Regions from separate parts of the Homo sapiens genome. Here region 1 is linked to region 2. The links are contacts of gene promoters, found by promoter capture Hi-C in human tissues and cell types (Jung and others, 2019). All regions are on one chromosome and are shown on one strand. The core of a region is centred on a gene start or on the middle of the fragment in contact, and the rest is flanking DNA. Distances in the headings are between cores, read along the strand shown. Region 1 overlaps GTF2IRD1 (GTF2I repeat domain containing 1). Region 2 holds the start of LAT2 (linker for activation of T cells family member 2).

The links. Contacts are between HindIII fragments. The study calls those that stand out against the background at their distance.
Region 1: a fragment that was not itself captured here is called in contact with the fragment with the promoter of LAT2 in region 2 in 1 of the 25 tissues and cell types used here (IMR-90 fibroblasts).

The regions. Positions count from the first base shown.
Region 1 is chr7:74,495,937-74,500,987 of GRCh38, forward strand. All of the region lies in intron 1 of GTF2IRD1 (GTF2I repeat domain containing 1), which reads left to right. Among named protein-coding and RNA genes, the nearest start is that of WBSCR23, 34 kb to the right of the region's middle. The HindIII fragment of the contact is 8,291 bases long and covers 1-5,051 here.
Region 2 is chr7:74,208,014-74,213,132 of GRCh38, forward strand. LAT2 (linker for activation of T cells family member 2) reads left to right here and starts at 1,993. Exons shown (of 14, transcript NM_032464.3): 1 at 1,993-2,075. RefSeq lists enhancers at 1,477-1,586, 2,807-2,926, 4,797-4,876, 5,007-5,066 and silencers at 1,867-1,916, 3,027-3,116. The HindIII fragment of the contact is 33,709 bases long and covers 1-5,119 here.

The DNA of each region.
Region 1 (5,051 bases), core at 1,496-3,995, 290 kb after region 2:
GCTGGGGCCAGCCACCTTCTCTGTGAAGGTTTTCACTGCATTCAGACTGTGCTGGGACTGGCCCCAGGAGGACTTGGACTAGCGTGTGTGTGAGTGAGTGTGCATGTGTGCACACATGTGTCTGTATGTGTGGACATGCATGTGAGTTTGCATGCATGTGTGTGCATATGTGTGTATGCATGTGTGAGTGTGCATGCATATGTGAGTGCATTGTGTGCACAAGTACGTGTATGTGTGTATGCATGTGAGTGGCTATGCGTGCGTATGTGTATGGGGTGTCTGCATGTGGGTGTGCATGCGTGTGTGGGTGTCTGCATATGTGTGTATGCATGTGAGTGGGTATGCGTGTGTATGTGGGTGTGCATGTGTGTGGGGGTGGGGGTGTGCATGGGGGTGTGCATGTATGTGCATGTGTGTGTGGGTGCATGTGTGTGTGCATATATGTGTGTGATATATGTGGGTGTGTGTGCATGTGGGTGTCAATGTGTGTGCATGTGTGTATGCATTTGAGTGTGGGTGTGCATGTGTGTTCATGTGGGTGTGCACGTATGTGTGTGTGTGTGTGTTCATGTGGGTGTGCGTGTGTGGGTGTGCATGTATGTGTGGGTGTGTGCGTTTGGGGGGTGTACATGTGTGGGTGTGCATGTGTGTGGGTGGGTGTGGGTGTGCATGTATGTGGGTGTGCGTGTGGGTGTGCATGTATGTGTGCGTGTGGGTGTGTGTGTGAGTGTGCATGCATGTGTGTGTTGACTTGCTAGTGCTCACACTTACCTCTGGGGCAGAGATGTGCTTGTTAGGTGCCCCCTCCCTCTCTCCACTCCATTCCAGCAAAGGTCACTGAGTGTCCTCTCTAGTCTTAGGAACGACACTCGACAGTGGACAATGAGAACAACCAAACACTTCCTCTCTTCCCCCCTCCCCCCATTTTGAAAAATTCTATTAAGGCCAGGCATGGTGGCTTATGCCTATAATCCCAGCAGGTTGGGAGGCTGAGGTGGGAGGATTGTTTGAGGCCAGGTGTTCAAGGCCAGCCTGGGCAACATAGCAAGACCCCATCTCTACAAAAAAATTTAAAATTAGCCAGGCATGGCGGTGCACACCTGTAGTCCCAGCTGCTTGGAAGGCTGAGGTGGGAAGATGGCTTGAACCCAGGAATTTGAGGCTGCAGTGAGCTATGATCACACCACTGCAATCCAGCCTGGGCAACAGAGTGAGACTCTTTCTAAATAAAATAAAATAAAATATAAAAACAGAACTACTATACAATTCAACAGTTCCACCTCTGGGTATATACCCCAAATCATTGAAAACAGGTTTACCAAGTGATTTGCATACTCATGTTAATAGCAGCATTATTTGCAAGAGCGGAAACGTGGAGTGCAGTTGCACAGTCACACCTCACTGCAGCCCCAACCTCCGCAGGCTCAAGCCATCCTCCCGCCTCAGCTTCCCAAGTAGCTGGGACTACAGGTGTGCACCACCACACCCAGCTAATTTTTGTATTTTCTGTAGAGATGGAATCTTGCCAGGCTGGTCTCAAACTCCTGAGCTCAAGCAATCCTCCTGCCTCAGCCTCCCAAAGTGCTGGGATTACAGGCCTGAGCTACTGGACCTGGCTGGTAGTCCTATTTTTAATTTTTTGAGGAACCGCCATGCTGTTTTCCACAGTGCCTGTACCATTTTGCATCCCTACCAGCAGCACACAGGGTTCCAATTTCCCCACGTTCTCACCAGCTCTTGTTTTTTTCCTGTGTGTGGTTTTGTTTGTTTTGTTTGTTTTTGTTTTAGACAGAGTTTCACTCTTGTTGCCCCGCCTGGAGTGCAATGGCATGATGTCAGCTCACTGCAACCTCCGCCTCCTGGGTTCAAGCAATTCTCCTGCCTCAGCCTCCCAAGTAGCTGGGATTACAGGCATGTGCCACCATGCCCGGCTAATTTTTGTAATTTTAGTGGAGATGGGTTTCACCATGTTGGTCAGGCTGGTCTCGAACTCCTGACCTTAGATGATCCGCCTGCCTTGGCCTCCCAAAGTGCTGGGATTACAGGCATGAGCCACCGCGCCCCGCTTTCTTGTGTTTTTTATAGTAGGTATCCTGGTGGGTGTGAGGTGGAGTTTAGATTTGCATTTTGCTAATCTTTAGTGATGTTGGACATCTTTTCATCTGTTTTATGGCCATTTGTATATCTTCTTAGGGGAAAGGTTTACTCAAGTCATTTGCCTATTTTTTAATTGGATTATTATTATTAATGGAGATGATGTCTCGCTCTGTTGCCCAGGCTGGTCTCGAGCTCCTGGCCTCAAGTTATCCTCTCACCTTGGCCTCCCAAAGTGCTGGGATTACAGGCATGAACCACTGCATCCAGTCTTAGTTGTTGAGTTTTAGGAGGTGTCTGCATATCCTGGATATTAATCCCTTACCGATATACTATTTACAAATATTTTCACCCATTCTGTGGTTTGCCTTTTTATTCCATTGATTCTGTCCAAAACTTCTCTTTACTCATAGAGCAAAGGTTGTATATCTCTAAACCAAGCTTCTTCCCTTGCTTCTCTCTGTGGAAACAACAGGGTATTATCCTTCCACTCCTGTACCCAGAGAACTCCTATTCACTCTTGAAAACCCACCTCAACAGTCATCAACTCAGGGAAGCCTTATTTGTCAGGCCCCTCCTCCCCCAAAACTAAGTAAATAAAACATTTAAATAAAACATAGGTAACCCCTTTCCCCATTGTCAAGCTCTGTGCCTGCGCGAGCTTCTCTGCTTGTCCTTCTTTCGTGGTCCTGTAGTTCTTTTTTTTTTTTTTAAATAAGATGGACTCTCACTCTTTCACCCAGGCTGGAGTGCAGTGGCAAGATCTCAGCTCACTGCAACCTCCAACTCCCAGGTTCTAGCAATTCTCCTGCCTCGGCCTCCCTAGTAGCTGGGACTATAGGCGTGTACCACCACCCCCAGCTAATTTTTTGTATTTTTAGTAGAGATGGGGTTTCACCATGTTGGCCAGGCTGGTCTCAAACTCCTGACCTCAAGTGATCCTCCCACCTCTGCCTCCCAAAGTGCTGGGATTACAGGCATGAGCCATCGCACCCAGCCTGGTCCTGTAATTCTCTCTGGACACACTGGCCCTGTGAGCTGGAGGAGGGCAGGCGGAGCCTGGCACAGAGCAGCCTCTTGGTAGGTGTTGAGTGAATGAGTAGGGGTGGTGAGGGGAGGCCACGGAAGGCACCCAGGCTGTGTTCCTCCCACTCCCAGCCTTGCCACGACCTACCAGGTCTCCAGCTCCTGCTGAGCTCTTGCAGGGTGGCCCCTCCCCACTTACAGCTCACTGCCTTGGACTAGGTCCCAGCCAATGGCCCGGCGGAGGTGTCCTCACTGTTCTTACCCAGTATGACCTAGGCGGGAGCCAATAAGCACAGGGAATGAGTATCACCCTGAGGGTTCAAAAGTGTGCAAGGAAGGGAGGAAGGGAAGGAAGGAAGGAAGGAAGAGAAGGGAGTGGGGGAGGGAGAGAGAGAAGGAAGGAAGGAAAGAAGGAAGGAAGGAAGGGAGCAATGAATGAATGCATACATCAAGGAATGAATGAATGCATATACACAAAGGAATGAATGCACACACCAAGGAATGGATGAATGAATGCACACACTAAAGAATAAATGAATGCACACAAAGGAATTAATGAATGTACACAAAGGAATGCATGCACACACCAAGGAATGAATGAATGCACACACCAAGAAATGAATGAATGAATGCACACATGAATGAATGCATACACACAAAGGAATTAATGCACACACCAAGGGATGAATGAATGCATACACCAAGGAATGAATGAGTGTTCACACCAAGGAATGAGTGAGTGAATGAATGCACACGAAAGAAAGAATGAATGTGCACACCAAGTAATTAGTGAATGAATGAATGCACACAAAGGAATGAATGAGTGAATGTACACACCAAGGAATTAGTCAATGAATGCACACACACAGGAATGAGTGAATGAATACACACAAAGGAATGAATGTACACATCAAGGAATTAGTGAATGAATGCACACACAGAGGAATGAGTGAATGAACCTGCCACTTGTGGAGAGTGAAAAAAGCCTGAGAGATCCCCAGATGAGGGAGCCCCCATGTGTGCCCCTGCCGTTGAGAGGCCTGGACATGCTGGTGCATGGTGTAAGGGCTTGGGCTTGGGCTGAGCTGGCTCACAGGCGACCCATCAAGTGTCACAAATGACCTTGAACCGCTGCCACAAATGACCTTGAGCAGCACGCTTCCCCTCCCGAGCCTTAGCCTCCCCAGATGTAACATGGATTAGAAGAACCACCTCATGGTGCTTTTCTGAAAATTTGGTAGGCCTAACGTGGTGGCTCTCGCCTGTAATCCTAGCACTTTGGGAGGGAGGCCAAGGTGGGTGGATCGCTTGGGCTCGGGAGTTTGAGACCAGCCTGGGAAACATAGTGAGACCCTATCTGTTTTGTTAAAAAAAAAAAAAAAGAAAAAAAATTTGGTGGGGTGATGGGTGTGCCAGTTGGAGAGCTGTGACATTTGTTTTTTTGGTTCAACCCCAAGCCAGTGCAGACAAGTGACCCTCCCCAGCCAGCGGGCCAGGCCTCTCAGTGTCACCCTGGCTGAGGTTGTTCGTGTATGTGTGTGTGTGTGTGTCCCTTTCTTTACTGTCCTCATTCTTTGCATCACGTGTGTGGTCTTTTCTGTCTCATACACGCACACCCGTCGCATTTGCATGCTCTGACACACAGACACACATTGATGCTTCCTTTTTTAAATTTTTTATTTTTGGAGGCAGGGTCTTGCTCTGTCGCCCAGGCTGGAGTGCAACGGCATGATCACAGTTCTCTGTAGCCTCGAACTCCTGGGCTCAAGTGATCCTCCTGCCTCAGCCTCCTGAGTAGCTGGGACCACAGGTGTGGACCACCACACCTGGCTAATTTTTTTTATTTTTGTAGAGGTGGGGTCTTGCTATGTTGCCCAGGCTGGTACACTCCTGCTTCTTTATGTATGTATGTATTTATTCTCTTTTTAGAA
Region 2 (5,119 bases), core at 743-3,242:
ACTGCCTTGTGCTATTGACCATTAAACAGCTGCCCAAGGCCATTGAGCTATTAATTAAATAATAATTATTATTATTTTAAATTTTTTTGTTGTGTTTTTTGGGTTTTTTTGTTTTTGTTTTGTTTTTTTGAGATGGAGTCTCGCTCTGTTGTCCAGGCTGTAGTGCAGTGGCACGATCTTGGCTCACTGCAAACTCCGCCTTCTGGGCTCAAGTGATTCTCCTGCCTCAGCCTCCCAAGTAGCTGGGATTACAGGCACCCACCATCACACCCGGCAAATTTTTGTATTTTTAGTAGAGATGGGGTTTCACCATTTTGGCCAGGCTGGTCTCAAACTCCCGACCTAAATAAGGTGATCCACCTGCCTTGGCCTCCCAAAGTGCTGGGATTACAGATGTGAGCCACCACGCCCGGCCTATTTATTGTTTTTACAGACAGACAGGGTCTTGCTGTCCCCCAGGCTGGAGTGCAGTGGCAGAGTCACGGCTCACTGCAGCCTCCAACTCTTGGGCTCAAGAAATCCTCCCGTTTTGGCCTCCCAAAACACTGGGACTACAGGTGTGTGCCACCACACCCAGCTAATTAAAAAAATTTTTTTAGAGATGGGGTCTCGTTCTGTTGTCCAGGCTGGTCTCAAATTCCTGTTCTCAAGCGATCCTCCTGCCTCAGCCTCCAAAAATGTTAGGATTGCAGGTGCAAGCCACTGCACCTGGCCTCTATCTCCCTGTTTCTTGCTCTCTCCCCATCTGTGTGTGTCTCTGACAGTCTGTGGCTCTCTGTATCTTTCTGTGTGTCTCTCTGTGTGTGTCTTGGTCCATCTCATGCCCAGCTAATTTTTAAATTTTTTGTAGAGATGGGGTTTCACCATGTTGGCCAGGCTGGTCTTGAACTCCAGACCTCAGGTGATTCTCCTGCTTCAGCCTCCCAAAGTGTTGGGATTACAGGCATGAGCCACCGTGCCTGGCCCATGGGTATGAATTTCTGCCTGTGTGTGTCTTCTTCTTTTTTTTTTTTTTTTTGAGATGAAGTCTTGCTCTGTCACCCAGGCTGGAGTGCAGTGGCGCTATCTTGGCTCACTGCAACCTCCACCTCCTGGGTTCAAGCAATTCTCCTGCCTCAGCCTCCCGAGTAGCTGGGATTACAGGCACCCGCCACCACACCCAGATAATTTTTGTATTTTTGGTAGATATGGGGTTTCACCATGTTGGTCAGGCTGGTTTTGAACCCCTGACTTCATGACCTGCCTGCCTTGGCCTCCCAAAGTGCTGGGATTACAGGCATGAGCCACCGCGCCCGGCCCATGGGTGTGAATTTCTGCCTGTGTGTGTCTTTTTAGCGTATGTGTGTCTCCATATCTGCCATCTGCAGGAGCACCTCAGTTTCATTATCTTGCTCCCTGTCTATTGGAGTGTATCTCTCTTCCTCTCTGTGTGACTTTTTGTGTTTATGTGTGTGTTTAGTGTGTGTCCATATTTTCCTGTTCTCTTGTGTCTCTCTGCTGTGTCTCTCTCTTTTTCTTTCTGTTTTTTGAGACGGAGTCTCCCTCTGTCACCCAGGCTGGAGTGCAGTGGTGCGATCTCGGCTCACTGCAACCTCTGCTTCTGAGGTTCAAACGATTCTCCTGCCTCAGCCTCCCGAGTAGCTGGAATTACAGACACATGCCACCATGCCCAGCTAATTTTGTATTTTTAATAGAGACGGGGTTTCACCATGTTGGCCAGGCTGGTCTTAAACTCTTGACCTTACGTGATCCACCCGCCTCGGCCTCCCAAAGTTTTTGGATTACAGGTGTGAGCCACCTCGCCCGGTCCTATCTCTCTTTCTTCTCTTTCTCCCTCTCACTTTGTTTCTCTTCTCTCTCTCTCTCCCGCCTCCTTCCCCCGTCTCCCCTCCCTTCCCCCCACCGCCCTCTTCATAGCTGAGCCTGTCCGGCAGTGCGGCGGATGTACGGATGATTCAGTGGCTGGCAGGAAGCCCGCCCTGCCCGCCCGCCAGTGTCAGTGGTGTTGGCATCAGCTTGGGCAGGTGTGCGGGCTCAGGATGGGGCGGCCGTGGTGAGGAACCCTGGACTCTCAGGTAAGCCTTTCCCAGGGGTGCCTCAGTCCTCAGGCTGTCCCCCATCCCCCAGGAGCTCCTGGCCCCACTGGGTGGGGTGGGAAGAGGCCTGGATGCCTGGCGCCCCCTCCCGCAGCCCCACTCTCACCCTGGCACCAGGCTCTGTGGCACTTCAGGGGTCAGTTTGTTTCTGGGCTTCTGGCCACTCTCTTGCCCTCGCCTTCCCCTGTCCAGCCTGTGTAGCCTTGGGACATCCCAGGGTGGTCCCATCATTGCCAGAGACTGGTGAAGTAAGTGGCCGAGAGCCAAAACAGTGGCTGCCCTGGCCTGGGAGCCTCGGTTTCCTCATCCGTGAAATGGGACTGTAACCCCCTACACAGGTCAGGGGAAAACGGTGGGATTACAGGCCAGGGCCCAGGTCTTGCCCCAGGTCAGGTGAAGAACCCCCACTGCCTCCCTGCCCAGCCCCCTACCTGGCCCTCAACTCTGTCCCTGGGACCAGGGCTGCTCAGGCCCCTCCTGCACCCGCCCGCCTCCCTCTCTCCCTCCCAGCTAGGCTCATTTGAAGCCCAGAGTTATTTGGAAAAAGCAACAGGACCAGCCGGGCACGGTGGCTCAACCTGTAATCCCAGCATTTGGGGAGGCCAAGGCGGGAGGATCATTTGAAGTCAGGAGCTGGAGACCAGCCTGAGCAACATAGTGAGACTCCCATCTCTTTAAAAAATAAAAATAAAAAAATATAATTAAAAACTAAATGAAAAAACCAACAGACCCCAGAGCAGAGTCCAGTGGATAAAGCCATCCAGGGCTTCAAGCCAGGCTGCCCCCTCCCCAACCCCAGTGTCCCCAACCACAGCTCAGCTCGGAGAAGGCTGGGAGAACCGGCAGGGTGGTCTCGAGCGTCCTTCCAGGCGGGATTCAGACACTGTAGCTCCTCCAGCCCAGCCCCGAGAACTTCCCCGAAGCCAGCTCTTGGCAATCGTTGTTCATATGAAAACTGCCCACTTCCCTTTAGTGCTATTTTGGCCTCTGCAGAACCGTGGTCTGTGGCAGCCCCCACTCCCCACCCCGCCCAGCCCTGCCGGCCCCTGGGGGCCTCAGAGGGTCCACCCTCCGCTCCCTCCACCTCAGCCCACCTGCTTTCAGAACCTGGATGGGAGAGTGAAAGTGAGAGCGAGACAGAGACACAAAGGGAGACAGAGACAGAGAGAGAGCACAGAATTTTTTTAAACGGAGTCTCACTCTGTTGTCCAGGCTGGAGTGCAGTGGCGTGATCTCGGCTCACTGCAACCTCCACCTCCCAGGTTCAAGCAGTTCTCCTGCCTTACCCTTCCAAGTAGCTGGGGACTACAGGCACGTGCTACCACACCTGGCTAATTTTTTATTTTTTATTTATTTTTTATTTTTTGGAGACAGTCTTGCTCTGTCTCCCAGGCTGGGAGTGCAGTGGTGCAATCTTGGCTCACTGCAAGCTCCACCTCCCGGGTACATGCCATTCTCCTGCCTCAGCCTCCCGAGTAGCTGAGACTAGAGGCGCCTGCCACCACGACCGGCTAATTTTTTGTATTTTTAGTAGAGACGGGGTTTCGCCATGTTAGCCAGGATGGTCTCAATCTCCTGACTTTGTGATCTGCCTGCCTCGGCCTCCCAAAGTGCTGGGATTACAGGTGTGAGCCACCGTGCCTGGCCTAATTTTTTATTTTTAGTAGAGACAGGGTTTCACCATGTTGGCCAGGCTGGTCTTGAACTCCTGACCTCAGATGATTTGCCCGCCTCAGCCTCCCAAAGTGTTGGGATTACAGGTGTGAACTACCGCACCCGGCCAACAGCGCAGGATGTATTCAGTCTGGGGGCAGACACATGACTGTTTGTTAAATTTCATTTTTTGTTTTTAGAGATGGGGTCTTGCTCTGTCACCCAGGCTGGAGTTCAGTGGTGTGATCTTGGCTCACTGCAGCTTCCAACTCCTGGGCTCAAGCAATTCTCTTGCCTCAGTGTCCCAAGTAGCTGGAACCACAGGCATGTGCCACTGCGCCTGCCTAATTTTTTCATTTTTTTGTAGAGACAGGGCCTTGTTACATCGTCCATGCTGGTCTCGAACTCCTGGCCTCAAGCGATCCTCCTGTCTCGGCCTCCCAGTGTTGAGATTACAGGCGTCAGCCACCACGCCCAGCCTGATCCCATTTTATTTATTCATTTATTTAATTTATTATTATTATTATTATTATTTTGAGATGGAGTCTCACTCTGTCTCCCATGCTGGAGTGCACTGGCGTGATCTCAGCTCACTGCAACTCACTGCCTCCTGAGTTCAAGTGATTCTCATGCCTCAGCCTCCCAAGTAGCTGGAATTACAGGCTTGCACCTCCACGCCTGGCTAATTTTTGTATTTCTAGTAGAAACAGGGTTTCACCATGTTGGCCAAGCTGGTCTCAAACTCAAGTGATCCTCCTGTCTCAGCCTCCCAAAGTATTGGGATTACAGGTGTGAGTCCCTGTACCCAGCCCGACCTCATTTTATAGATGAGAAAACTGAGGCGGGGGGCTCTCAGGCAGAGGCTAGATTTGGTCCCATGAGCCCTCCTGCAAGACAAGTTGCTCCAACCTCACAAGCCTGAGATGAACTTGGGCCATGCTGGAGGGGTTGGGGGTACACCCCGGGTTGGGGGCACTGAGGCAAGGAGAGTTTCGAGGAGGGAGAAGGGCAGTGCCCAGGCGGGCCATGGGGAAGAGAGAGCAGAGCTTTCCTCGGACAACCTCCCGGGGTGACGTGGGTCGTGCCAGTCACACGGCTCAGAAATTCACTTGTTCCCACTGACTCACTTGGCTTTTGGGGAGAGGCCTGGTGGCTTCTCTGTGATGCGCCTCTTACAGAGGCTCAGGGCCGCATGGAGATTCCCTGTCATCTTACCGCAGGGATTTGGGAAGTCCAGAGAGGTCCTGAGACTTGTCCAAAGCCACACAGCTTTCAAGGGGGACAGCCCAGGTCCTGGTGGACCTCAGGGGGATCCCAAGGCAGGAGGTAGGCAGCCTGGAGCTCCTCCATTATTATTATTATTATTATTG